3 separate regions of the Homo sapiens genome follow, and all the other regions are linked to region 1. The links are contacts of gene promoters, found by promoter capture Hi-C in blood cells and fetal thymus (Javierre and others, 2016). All regions are on one chromosome and are shown on one strand. Each heading gives the region's core, a stretch centred on a gene start or on the middle of the fragment in contact. The rest is flanking DNA. Distances are from core to core; before and after follow the strand shown. Region 1 holds the start of LMTK2 (lemur tyrosine kinase 2). Region 2 holds the start of LOC124901705 (a long non-coding RNA gene). Region 3 overlaps BAIAP2L1 (BAR/IMD domain containing adaptor protein 2 like 1).

What was found. The method cuts DNA at HindIII sites, captures the fragments that hold promoters and counts their contacts. A CHiCAGO score of 5 or more calls a contact.
Region 2: a fragment that was not itself captured here is called in contact with the fragment with the promoter of LMTK2 in region 1 in 1 of 17 cell types (neutrophils); the score reaches 6.1 in neutrophils.
Region 3: a fragment that was not itself captured here is called in contact with the fragment with the promoter of LMTK2 in region 1 in 1 of 17 cell types (neutrophils); the score reaches 5.6 in neutrophils.

Annotation. Positions count from the first base shown.
Region 1 is chr7:98,104,254-98,108,247 of GRCh38, forward strand. LMTK2 (lemur tyrosine kinase 2) reads left to right here and starts at 2,609. Exons shown (of 14, transcript NM_014916.4): 1 at 2,609-3,027. The coding sequence starts at 2,925. The HindIII fragment of the contact is 4,003 bases long and covers 1,741-3,994 here.
Region 2 is chr7:98,270,296-98,274,055 of GRCh38, forward strand. LOC124901705 (a long non-coding RNA gene) reads right to left here and starts at 668. Exons shown (of 3, transcript XR_007060446.1): 1 at 562-668. The HindIII fragment of the contact is 5,981 bases long and covers 1-3,760 here.
Region 3 is chr7:98,299,521-98,303,455 of GRCh38, forward strand. All of the region lies in intron 12 of BAIAP2L1 (BAR/IMD domain containing adaptor protein 2 like 1), which reads right to left. It also overlaps a transcript of BRI3 not described here. Among named protein-coding and RNA genes, the nearest start is that of BRI3, 20 kb to the left of the region's middle. The HindIII fragment of the contact is 2,719 bases long and covers 1-2,717 here.

The DNA of each region.
Region 1 (3,994 bases), core at 1,359-3,858:
TTTGAGAGGCCGAAGTGGGCAGATCACTTGAGGTCAGAAGTTCAAGACCAACCTGGCCAACATGGTGAAACCCTGTCTCTCCTAAAAATACAAAAATTAGCCAGGTGTGGTGGCGGGCGCCTGTAACCCCAGCTACTCAGGAGGCAGAGGCAGGAGAATCACTTGAGCATGGGAGGCAGAAGTTGCAGTGAGCCAAGATCACACCACTGTACTCCAGCCTGGGTGACAGAGCGAGACCCTGTTTCAAAAAAGAAAAAAAAAAAAGAATGGCTGTAAAACACTGAAAGATATTGCTTCTAATCTTAGGTATTGATTTCCAAATTGTGCTAAAGGCTGTTTTCTGACTTCTGGGTGAAACTAAACAAAGCCAACAGGTTTTTGTTTGTTTAATAACATCTCTAACTGGAAGTCTTCAAGTATTGAGTAAAGGCATACACGGTGAGGTGGGTGGTGGGGCAAAGGCTGCCTTTAGACATCATCTGGGGGATGTGCACTGTAACCCCTGTTCTGTGAAAGAGGAAAAGAAGTTTGTTTATTTGTTTGTTTGTTTTAACTTTTGGGCTTGCTCAAATAATAGCAAAATCTACTTTGGGATTGTGGTCCAACGTGCTGTTGGAGTGCACTTTAGTTGTAAATAACCACTACCAGGATTATCAGGTAAGGCCTTCCTTAGGCCAGCACTACAGCAGGCAGTCACGAGCCTCCTTGCAGTACACAGTGTGGGTGTCCCTGGCTTCTCTGAACTCAAAGTGAGAAGCTTCCTGATAGAAGTAGAAGTATAGGCTAGGCGCGGTGGCTCATGCCTGTAACCCCAGCACTTTGGGAGGCCGGAGTGGGCAGATCACGAGGTCAAGAGATCGAGACCATCCTGGCCAACATGGTGAAATCCTGTCTCTACTGAAAATACAAAAATTAGCCAGGTGTGGTGGCGGGCACCTGTAGTCCCAGCTACTCAGGAGGCTGAGGCAGGAGAATCGCTTGAACCCAGGAGGCAGAGGTTGCAGTGAGCTGAGATCGCACCACTGCATTCTAGCCTGGTGACAGAGACAGACTCTGTCTCAAAGAAAAAAAAAAAAGAAGTAGAAGTACAACAGGGTGATTGTGTCTCTTTCCTAGACCTTTGCCTTCCTTACCAATTCTGCATATAATCAGCAGAAAGCCGTGAACTTTTTTTTTTTTAAGACAGAGTCTCGCTGTGTCGCCCAGGCTGGAGTGCAGCGGTGTGATCTCAGCTCACCGCAACCTCCGCCTCCTGGGTTCGAGCAATTTTCCTGCCTCAGCCTCCCAAGCAGCTGGGATTACAGGCATGCGTCACCGTGTCTGGCTAATACTTTTTGTATTTTTAGTAGAGATGGGGTATGACCATGTTGGCCAGGCTGGTCTTGAACTCCTGGTCTGAAGTGATTCACCCACCTTGGCCTCCCAAAGTGCTGAGATTACAGGTGTGAGCCACCGTGCCCAGCCAAGCCATGGACTTTTAAATTCAATGTTTCTCGTTCCAGGTATTTGTCTCCTTAGATATTTATTGGCTTGCCTCAATCATCCAACAAATATTCCCTGGGCATCATCTGTGTGTCCAGTGCTGTGTTAACATCATCGACAGCTGGCATTTAGGATGGACATTTGGGGAGTTTGGAGAATTGGGGAGGTTACACTGTTGCCAGGTGGCAAAGTCTCATCTGATAAGATTGAAATCAGCTCCTCTCATGCACACACTGAACCATAGCGCCTCTCCAGAAAAGCTTAGCATTTTCCCAACCCCCATGCCTCTGACCACTATATTACTTGTGTCTGGAGAGTGCTTTCTCTATCCTCTCTGCAGGACTGTGTTCTCACCTCACCTCTTGGTGGGGAGAAGGCCACCCCTGGGAGCTGCTCTGCCCTGGTACCTGGGACCAGGGCCATGCACCATTGCTTTAGAGAACACCTGCTCCGACCCAGGTCCTGCACCAGGGATTTCCCACCAGCTGAATCAGACACAGTTGCTGTCCTCAGGGAGCTTACAGTCACGGGTCAATAGGATACTGCAGCTAGGATAGCAGTCCACACAGGGCCAGGGCGGGGCACTAAGGAGATGACAGTCATTTCTCCTAGAGAGTCATAGATGAAGTCATATGTCAGGTGAGTCTCGACAGATGAAAGGAAGAGTGTCTGCCAGGTGGACAAGAGGCAACAGCTTGAGCTCAGGAGGTGAGTCAGTGGGTGATGCCGAGAGAGGCATTCTCTTGATCAATTCAAGTGAAAAGCCCAAAGCTGTTTGATGGCTGAGAGGATGTGTAGGTCAACTTAAGGAGAAGAGCCTAAAACAGCTCTGACAAGTAAAAAAAAAAAAAAGGCAGAAGACAAGACAGGCCTATTTTTGCATGTTATAAAACACCGAGAAAAAAATATCAGGATGATTGTCATGGTCTTCTTTACATTTTCCTGTATTTTTCAATTTAAAATAATTGTTGGTGTTACCTGCTGCCCACGCACTCCTCCGTCTGCAGGGGGCGCACCGGCCGCCACCGCTCACTCCTTCAGGATGATGGGCGGGGCCTCCTGGGCCGGTGTGGACTGACGAGTGGCTGGCCGCCCTGTCCATCACGACATCCCGCCCCCGCGCTACGTCACATGACGCAGCCCATCATGGCGGCGGGAGCGCGGCTTCCCAGGCCCGCCGCTCCGCAGGGCTGCTGGCGTTGCTGCTGTTGAGAGGCGGCGGCGGCGGCGCAGGCGGGCGGGAAGGATGGTGTTTCTGCGACTGGAGCGGCAGGTGCGGACCGGGAGCCGGACCGAGGTTTGGCAGAAGCAACGTGTGCTCGGGAGCAACCGGCGCGGGTGCCACTGAGGCAGCGGAGGGAGGCAGGATCGACTGACGGGCGAACGGACGGACGGACGGAAGGCGACTCGAGGGCCGGCCCCGGAGCCGCGCCGTGGGCGAGATGCCGGGGCCGCCGGCGTTGCGGCGGAGGCTGCTGCTGCTGCTGCTGGTCCTCCTGATCGCCGGCAGTGCTGGGGCCGCGCCACTTCCGCAAACAGGTGCAGGTGAGCGGGCCCGCGGCGGGGACGGGGCTGCGGGGTCTTCGGCGTGGAGGGGAGGGGGCGGCAGGGCCGGGCCGGCCTCGGCGCCGAGGAATCGGAGGGCCTGCCGGGGGCGGGAAGCCCAGGGAGGCGAGTGATTAGGGAGATTTCTGCCGCAGGGGCGTGGGATTTGGGGGGGCGGGAGCGAGGCGACGTCGTTGGGGCTGGGGAGGGCGGCGGGCGAGGTAGCAGCCACCGACCCCTCCCGGGATAGGCTGCGGTGCCGGCCCTGGACCTGTTGCCTTAAGATCCTCAGCTTATATCGCTTCCTGGCAGTTCAGCTTCCCTTTCCAGATGTCACCTGCCTCTTGTGCTTTTTTTTCGCATCTCATAAGAACCGTTTCTTAGCCCTAATCATACTTAAATGCAAATGACTTGGCGAGCTGTGCGGAGTTTGTTTTCGCTCCTTGCAACTTATTCTGAAGTTGTAAATTGATTTTAGACGCTGTGCTTTTTATTCGGAATGTATCTCCGGGGATGAGAAGGAAACAACTATAAATATTTCTATTTTAGGAAGCCAGTGATTAGAGTAGCAGGCGTTGAATAACTATTGACAAACTGGCTTAAGGGTGATGGAAGTTTCTATTTTAGCTAACGTCAGTGTATGATTTTCTTTTCTCCCCCCCCGCCCATTTTCTCAACATCGTTTTTATTTGGGGTTTATTTTCCTAAATAAAACTTCAACCCAAGAAAACATCCCAAGTTGGGTCATTTTTCTAAAAAGGAAAAAAAAATCTAGGCTAACTTGGCGTTATTGACTGCCGCCATTACCTTTGAAATGGGGAAAGATTGAAATTTCATACATTCATAGAATGTTAGAGTTAGAAGAGACCTTAAAGAAAATTTAGACCAATTTCTTCTTTACGTAGTAGGAGATACTGGGCATGTTGGGTCAAATGACCTACCCAGGGTGACACAGCTTCGTTGTAGG
Region 2 (3,760 bases), core at 193-2,692, 160 kb after region 1:
GGTACCTGGCTGTGGGCGCCATGAGTCGCTGGCTAGCAGTCGGACTCCAGGCTCAGAACCTGAGAATCTTGGCGGTGGGGCAGGATTGTGAGGCCGCATTCTGTCCCCGGTGAGACCTGGCTCTGTCCAGTTCCTCCCGGGCCTCCCAACGCCCCCGATGGCTCCTTCCCCCTGGCCATCTGTCCGGTCCCTCCTTCATGTCGGTCGCTGGCCCACCGGTGACTGCTTGGCTTCTGCTGGAGTTTAAGGGGGCTTTCCGCTGCCCCGTACTGAGGCATCCCCGCATCATTCCTGGGCGTGTCCCCAAGAACAGCCATGGCCTCCACAGTGCAAGCTGAAGGTAGGAGCCCCCGGAACAGACCAGGGAGGCAGTGGAGGGTGGGCTGGGCCAGAGAGAGGATGGGGGCTACCTGCTGGGGAGAAGGGATGGGGGAGTGGAGAGGGGACCCTCCTGCCACAGTGGCATCGGGAGGCCCTGGGGGCTCCTTCCCTCTGTCTCTTCGCCCATGGCAGCCTCTCTTCTTTGGAGAACCCCTCCCCACTGCTGCCCCCCAAGCTCACATGTGCTGCAAAGCCAAGACTCTATGAAACAGCATCTCCAAGCCTCGGTGCCTTCTCCTCCACTCTGCGGCTTGAAGCAGAACCGAGTTCTGGGCACTGCTGGCAAAATAGAATAATGACGGAGAGGAGGAGACCCAGATCCTTATAGGCCCTGAGAGGGTCCCCCCAAACATCATTGCTTGGGGGTGAGTCCTGAAAGCCGCTCCCTTACTGACCAAAGGAAGTGACCTCTCCATCTCAACCTGGGAGTGGTCATTTTTCTGCTTCATCCTAACCAAAGATGATGCCTCCTGTCACCAAACTCAGAGCTCTGGTGACTGGGGACAAGTTTGCCTCAAATTCCACTTCAATTCTCTCTACCATCATAGATTATTTCAATTTTATAATGTTTATGTATTCAGGGGGTTCAAGTACAGATTTCTTTTTTCTTTTTCTTTTTTTTTTTTGAAACGGAGTCTCGCTCTGTTGCCCAAGGCTAGAGTGCAGTGGCGCGATCTCGGCTCACTGCAATCTCCGCCTCCTGGGTTCAAGCAATTCTCCTGTTTCAGTCTAACAAGTAGCTGGGATTACAGGTGTGTACCACCACACCCAGCTAGTTTTTGTATTTTTAGTATAGATGGGGTTTACCATGTTGGCCAGGCTGGTCTTGAACTCCTGACCTCAAATGATCTGCCCACCTTGGCTCCCAAAGTGAGGGAATTACAGGCATGAGCCACCGTGCCCGGCTTTTTTTTTTTTTGAGATGGAGTCTCGCTCTGCTGCCCAGGCTGGAGTGCAGTGGCGCGATCACAAATCACGGCAGCCTCAACCTCCCAGCCTTAAAACACCTCAGCACCCTGCGTAGCTGGGAACACAGGTGCACATCATCATGACTGGCTAATTTTTAAATTTTTTTTTGTAGAGACGGGGTCTTGCTGTGTTGCCCAGGCTGGTCTCAAACTCCTGGGCTCAAGCAATCCTCCTGTCTTGGCCTCCCAAAATGCTGGGATTACAGGCGTGAGACACTGCAGCCAGCCAGCCACAAGGACAGATGCCTTACATGCAGGTATTGCATAGTGCTGAAGTCTGTGCCTTCAGTGCACCTGTCACCAGAATCGTGAACATTGTACCCAACAGGTGATTTTCAGACCTCACCCCCCTCTTGCCCTCCCACCTGTTTCAGTCTCCAATGTCTATTCTGCCACTCAGTATGTCTGTGGGTACCCATCGTTTAGCTCCCACATATAAGTGAGAACATGCCATCATAAATTAAACCACAGCTAACAGATCCCATAGGGAAAGACCTTCTGTCAGTCTGGATAACTTTTTTTTTTTTTTTTTTCTGAGATGGAGTCTTATTCTGTCATCCAGGCTGGAGTACAGTTGCGCAACCTTGGCTCACTGCAACCTCCACCTCCCAGGTTTAAGCAATTCTCCTGCCTCAGCCTCCTGAGCAGCTGGGATTGCAGGTGTGCACCACCACACCCAGTTAAGATTTGTATTTTTAGTAGAGACGGGGTTTCACCATGTTGGCGAGGATGGTCTTGAACTCCTGACCTCAGGTGATCCACCCGCCTCGGCCTCCCAAAGTGATGGAATTACAGGCGTGAACCACCTCGCCTGGCCAACAATCAGGATAACTTTCATTGTCATCTGATAGAGAATAGAAAAGTCACAGAGGTGCCTCATTTTCCCTGAATGACACTTGTAATCTCCAAAACTATCGAGTGAGATCCCAAAGAGCATCAGTCATCTCCACTGGCATCTTCCCTGCCATCTAGGCACTCTCAATTTATTTTATTTTATTTATTTATTTTTTATTTATTTTATTTTATATTTTATTTTATTTTATTCATTTTATTTTATTTTACTTATGAGACGGAGTCTTGCTCTGTCGCCCAGTCTGGAGTGCAGTGGCGCAGTCTCTGCTCACTGCAAGCTCTGCCTCCCAGGTTCACGCCATTCTCCTGCCTCAGCCTCTCGAGTAGCTGGGACTACAGGCGCCCACGACCGAACCCAGCTAATTTTTTGTATTTTTAGTAGAGACGGGGTTTCACCATGTTAGCCAGGATGGTTTCGATCTCCTGACCTTGTGATTCGCCCGCCTCGGCCTCCCAAAGTGCTGGGATTACAGGCGTGAGCCACCGTGCCCGGCCTATTTTATTTTTTAAAATTTTTTAATTTGTGGAGACAGAGTCTAGCTCTATCGTCCAGGCTGGAGTGCAGTGGTGTGATCTCAGCCCACTGCAACCTCCGCCTCCCGGGTTCAAGTGATTCTCCTGCCTCAGCCTCCCAAGTAGCTGGGATTACAGGTGTCTGCCACCATGCCCAGCTAATTTTTGTATTTTTAGTAGAGACGGGGTTTCACTGTGTTGGCCAGGCTGGTCTGGAACTCCTGACCTCATGATCTGCCCACCTCGGCATCCCAAATTGCTGGGATTACAAGCATGAGCCACCGTGCCTGGCTTCAGTTTATTTTTCTTTTTTCTTTATTTTTAAAAGTAGAGATGGGGGCCAGGCTCGGTGGCTCACGCCTGTAATCCCAGCACTTTGGTAGGTCAACGCAGTTGGATTACCTGAGGTCAGGAGTTCAAGACCAGCCTGGCCAACATGGTGAAACCCCATCTCTACTAAAAATACAGAAATTAGCCAAGCGTGGTGGTGGGTGCCTGTAATCCCAGCTACTCAGGAGGCTGAGGCAGGAGAATCGCTTGAACCCAGGAGACGGAGTTCAAGGTGTAGTGAGCCGAGGTTGCACCATTGCACTCCAGCCTGGGCGACAGAGTGAGACTCCATCTCCAAAAAAAAAAAAAAAAAAGAGATGGGGTCTTGCTATGTTGCCCAGGCTGGTCTCGAACTCCTGAGCTCAAGCGATCCTCCCGCCTCAGCTTCCCAAAGTTCTGGGATTACAGGAGTGAGCCACCGCACCTGGCTGCTCTTGATTTTTTAAAATGAGGAATGGCCTTATGTCATGATCCAGACATATTTCTAGCCTGAAGAGAGGATGCCCTTTATGGTCTAGGAACCAGAGCTTGAGTCTGGAGGTGGGAGAACCTAGGTTTGAATCCCCGCTTAGCAGTCAAATGATTGTGGGCACATGACCTTGAGTTCAATTAAACATTTAGTGAGCTCCTACTACGTCTGAGGCATTGTGGATACAGAGATAAGGCAGTGTCCTGGCCCACAAAGGGCTCAGGGGACCTGCTCAATGAACAGCCCA
Region 3 (3,935 bases), core at 108-2,607, 190 kb after region 1:
CTTATTTTTATATATAGAGAGAGATGGGTCCTTTCTCTGTCGCTCAGGCTGGACTTGAGTTCCTGGGCTCAAGTGATTCTACCACCTTGGCCTTCCAAGTAGCAGGGATCACAGGTGTGAGCCACCGTGCCCAGCTAGAGCAAGTTTTTAAATGGAACACTGTACTATTTTGTATGATCTATTCCTAACTGTCCAATGTGGCAACCACTAGCTGTATATGGCTACTTAAAATAAAATTTGCCGGGCGCAGTGACTCACGCCTATATTCCCAGCACTTTGGGAGGCTGAGGCGGGAGGATCACCTGAGATCAGGAGTTCGAGACCAGCCTGGCCAACATGGTGAAACCCCGTATCTACTAAAAATACAAAAATTAGCTGGGTGTGGTGGCATGCACCTGTAGTCCCAGCTACTTAGGAGGCTGAGGCGGGAGAATTGCTTGAGCCCGGGAAGTGGAGGTTGCTGTGAACCAAGATCATGCCACTGCACTCCAGCCTGGGCGACAGAGCAAGACTCCGTCTCATAAATAAATAAATAAACAAACAAACAAATGTAAACGTCTAGTTCCTTCGTTGCACCATCCGTTTTTCAAGTGCTCTGCTGCCCTGTGTGCCCTGTGGCTGCTGGACTGGGCAGGGAACATTTCCATCTGTGCTGCTCGTCTCTGACACACACATGCTTGATCCATGATCCCTGCTGGTGAGGAGGCTGTGAGGCCAGGAGGCCCAGAACACACAGCCATTCCCCCTGCTCCCTGCTCCCGCCCTTGGAGCAGCACCAATGCGTCTGTAGGCTGTTTCCCACAGCTGCGCTCCCGGAACTCCTGACTGGGATTGGTCTGGATGAAACGTGGTCACTTGTCTAACAGGAGTGCTGTCTACAGAGGCTGGATGCGGGTGACAGTTGCAGTCCCTCCCCGCAATGCTTTTGCAGTCTGCATAGGATGTTAGAATAACAGCATGCAGATGACCGCGCCATGTCTTATCAGGAAAGCGTACTGATGTGGAGGCCAAGAAGCTGCTGGCTGAGATTTCAGAACTGGGTTTCTAACCTGCCGTGGGCCTTGGACAGCGGCTGCCATTCTTCTGTGCCTCCCTTTCTCCATTTCACGAGGCCCCGCTATCCCTCTACCTCCCCAGGAGGTCCCAGCACAGGCACTGCTCAGGAAGCACCACCGTGAGGTGCGAAGGGTGTGAAGGTACGAAAGACAGGAGGGCACCACAGGCTGGCGGCACCACTCCCCTCGCAGGCCAGCCAGAAGCCAGGCAGCAGTGTGGAGGCTCATCCTGCCTCTCTGGCTGGTGCCCGACCCCAGCTCTTGAGCCCCCCAAGTCACCGCAACGCCCAGGCCTTGTGTTTTTGCCGAAGCTCGTGCCTCAGAGCCTGGCTCCGACGCTTTCCTCCTAGAAGCCTCCCCTGATGCGTCCCAGGAACCCTGGCCTCTCCCCTTGTCCTCACCCCATGCATCGAGCGCTCCCTGGACTCCACCCCTGCGTGGGTCTCATTCCTCTTTGTGTCCTGAGGGCTTGGCTCTAGGCCGCCCAGTAGAGGCCGGCTGGATGAATGCTGATGGGACGGTCTCATCTCTGTCCACAAAACCCCTCCCCCACAGCCATACCCTCACTGCCATGTGACTGTGTTGACAGAAGTCTGCTGGCCTCAGAGGTCTGCGGCCCAGGAAATCTCAGCTGCCATCAGTGATAAACATGACCTCCCTGTGGGCGTCACCTCCACCCCTGTGCTGGATGGGCCTTCTCATCGATTTCAGTGATCATGAAGTTAATCAGCAGTCAGCACTCAAACACGTGCAGAATCAATGACAACTGAAATGATTAGAATCCGCATAAGGAGGGCATTCTCATGAGGTATCTGGGGCTTTTGAATGTTCTTGGATGAAACCAGAAATGAAAGGCTGCTAAAATGAAAGCCTGAAAGCCTTCTAGCTTTTTTTTTTTGGTATATATATATATATATATTTTAAGTGGAGACGGGATTTCACCGTGTTAGCCAGGATGGTTTTGATCTCCTGACCTCGTGATCCGCCCACTTCGGACTCCCAAAGTGCTGGGATTACAGGCGTGAGCCACCGTGCCCGGCCAAGCCTTCTAGCTTTCAAGACAGAAAGGGGGAACCTGAAGATGATGGTGTGTGTGTGTGTGCACACGCGCGTCTGTGTGTGTGGTGGGGGTTAGAGGGAGGGTGGTCTTGGGGAAGTGAGCTTTGGCAGGTGCGGCCTGTGGAGGCAGCCGGGGACTGGATGACTGGGAATCTCTCCCGTGGAGGGGACAGCCTGAAGCTCGCGGGTGTGAGCTGAGAATACCAGCTCAGGTGGGAAGGGTGGTGGTGGTGTCCACATGGGCCAGCTGCGCTGGTGGAGGCTGCAGGGCACCAGGTCACCCCCTGCAGGCAGCCCCAGCTCAGCCCAACCCTCCAGGTCAGGGCCCTCGGGGACAGTGGTGTGCTTAAAGCTCTGCTGCCCGAGGAAGTGGGAAGCCGGTAAGAGGCGTGCACCGTGCGCTGGCAGTCTCCCGACACTGACAGAATGTCATGATCCAGCCAACGAAGAGGTTTAAGAATGAAGCCAGGTCACCTTTCCACTCCCCAGTGCTAAGTAAGGAGGAATCTGTCATTACTGAGTACACTGATACTTACAACCAGGCTTCTTCCATTTATCCAATTCCCTGCAGTAAGAATGGCGGCGACAGTACTTTCTTCACCAAGCTTTATCCACACGATAAATACGCTGACAATGACACGTTTTCATTTTCTAACACTGAAGACTATCCAGGGTTGGCCAAAGTGTCAGTGCTCTCACTTACAATGCCAGAGCTGTGATTTTTGGGGGCAAGATTCTTTTACCTTAAAAGGCATTATCCAACCTCAATAAAGCAGCAGGCTAGGCGAACATCAACAGCTACTAACATCACAAAAAGAGATGGACGTCCACACGTGCCTCCTCACTGGTGAAATGCTCCAGCAAAACACAACAGTCAAACAAGCAAAACAGCAACAGACTCTGAGCAGGGCCTGAGGTCTAACTACCAATTTACAGAAATACAGGAGACACGGGGGAACGCAGAAAGGACACCAACAGCAAAATCCAGATGGGGGACACCCTCCAGGACAAATGACTGGTTCTTCTACAAAGAGACTGCTAAGGACAAGAGGCAGAGGGGGGACCTGTAGCTAGAAAAGGCCTCACGAGCCCTATCCACCAATTATAATGTATGGAGCTGATTTGGATCCAGATTCAAACAACTACACTGTAAACCATTTTTCTTTTTTTATGAGACAGGGTCTCTGTCATCCAGGCTGGCATGCAGTGGTATGATCACAGTTCACAGCAGCCTCGAACTTCTGGGTTCAGGCTATCCTCCCACCACAGCCTCCTGAACAGCTGGGACTACAGACATGTGCCACCGTACCTGGCTAATTTTTTATATTTTTTGTCTACATAGGGTTTTGCTATGTTGCCAGTTTGGTCTAAAACTCCTGGGCTCAAGTGATCCTCCTGCCTTGGCCTCCCAAAGTGTTGGAATTACACAGACATGAGCCATTGCACCTGGCTTCAAAGACATTTTGAATGAAGTTTCAAAAGCTAGCATTCCTAAACCAAATCATGCCAATGCAGTCTACAATGAGGCAGGTCTACGTTCCCAGACTCCTCAAGGCTCACGCGTAGGTCTGGGGCAGGCACATCTTAGAAGCACATCCGTTTCATATCATCAAGACACTCCACACCTGGGCACCACTCACAGCTGAACTAAGGCCCCGGACACAAGGTATAGGGGCCTGGCTCCTTCGCCCCAAAGCAAGACAGCTCCTGGAGCGAGGGGTGCAGACACCACCACCCAGCCTCCTCCCCTTCACCCACAGGTCTCACACCAGGGCGCACTAACCTCAGCCAACCCAGCCCGGGAGTGATGTCCAGCCGCGC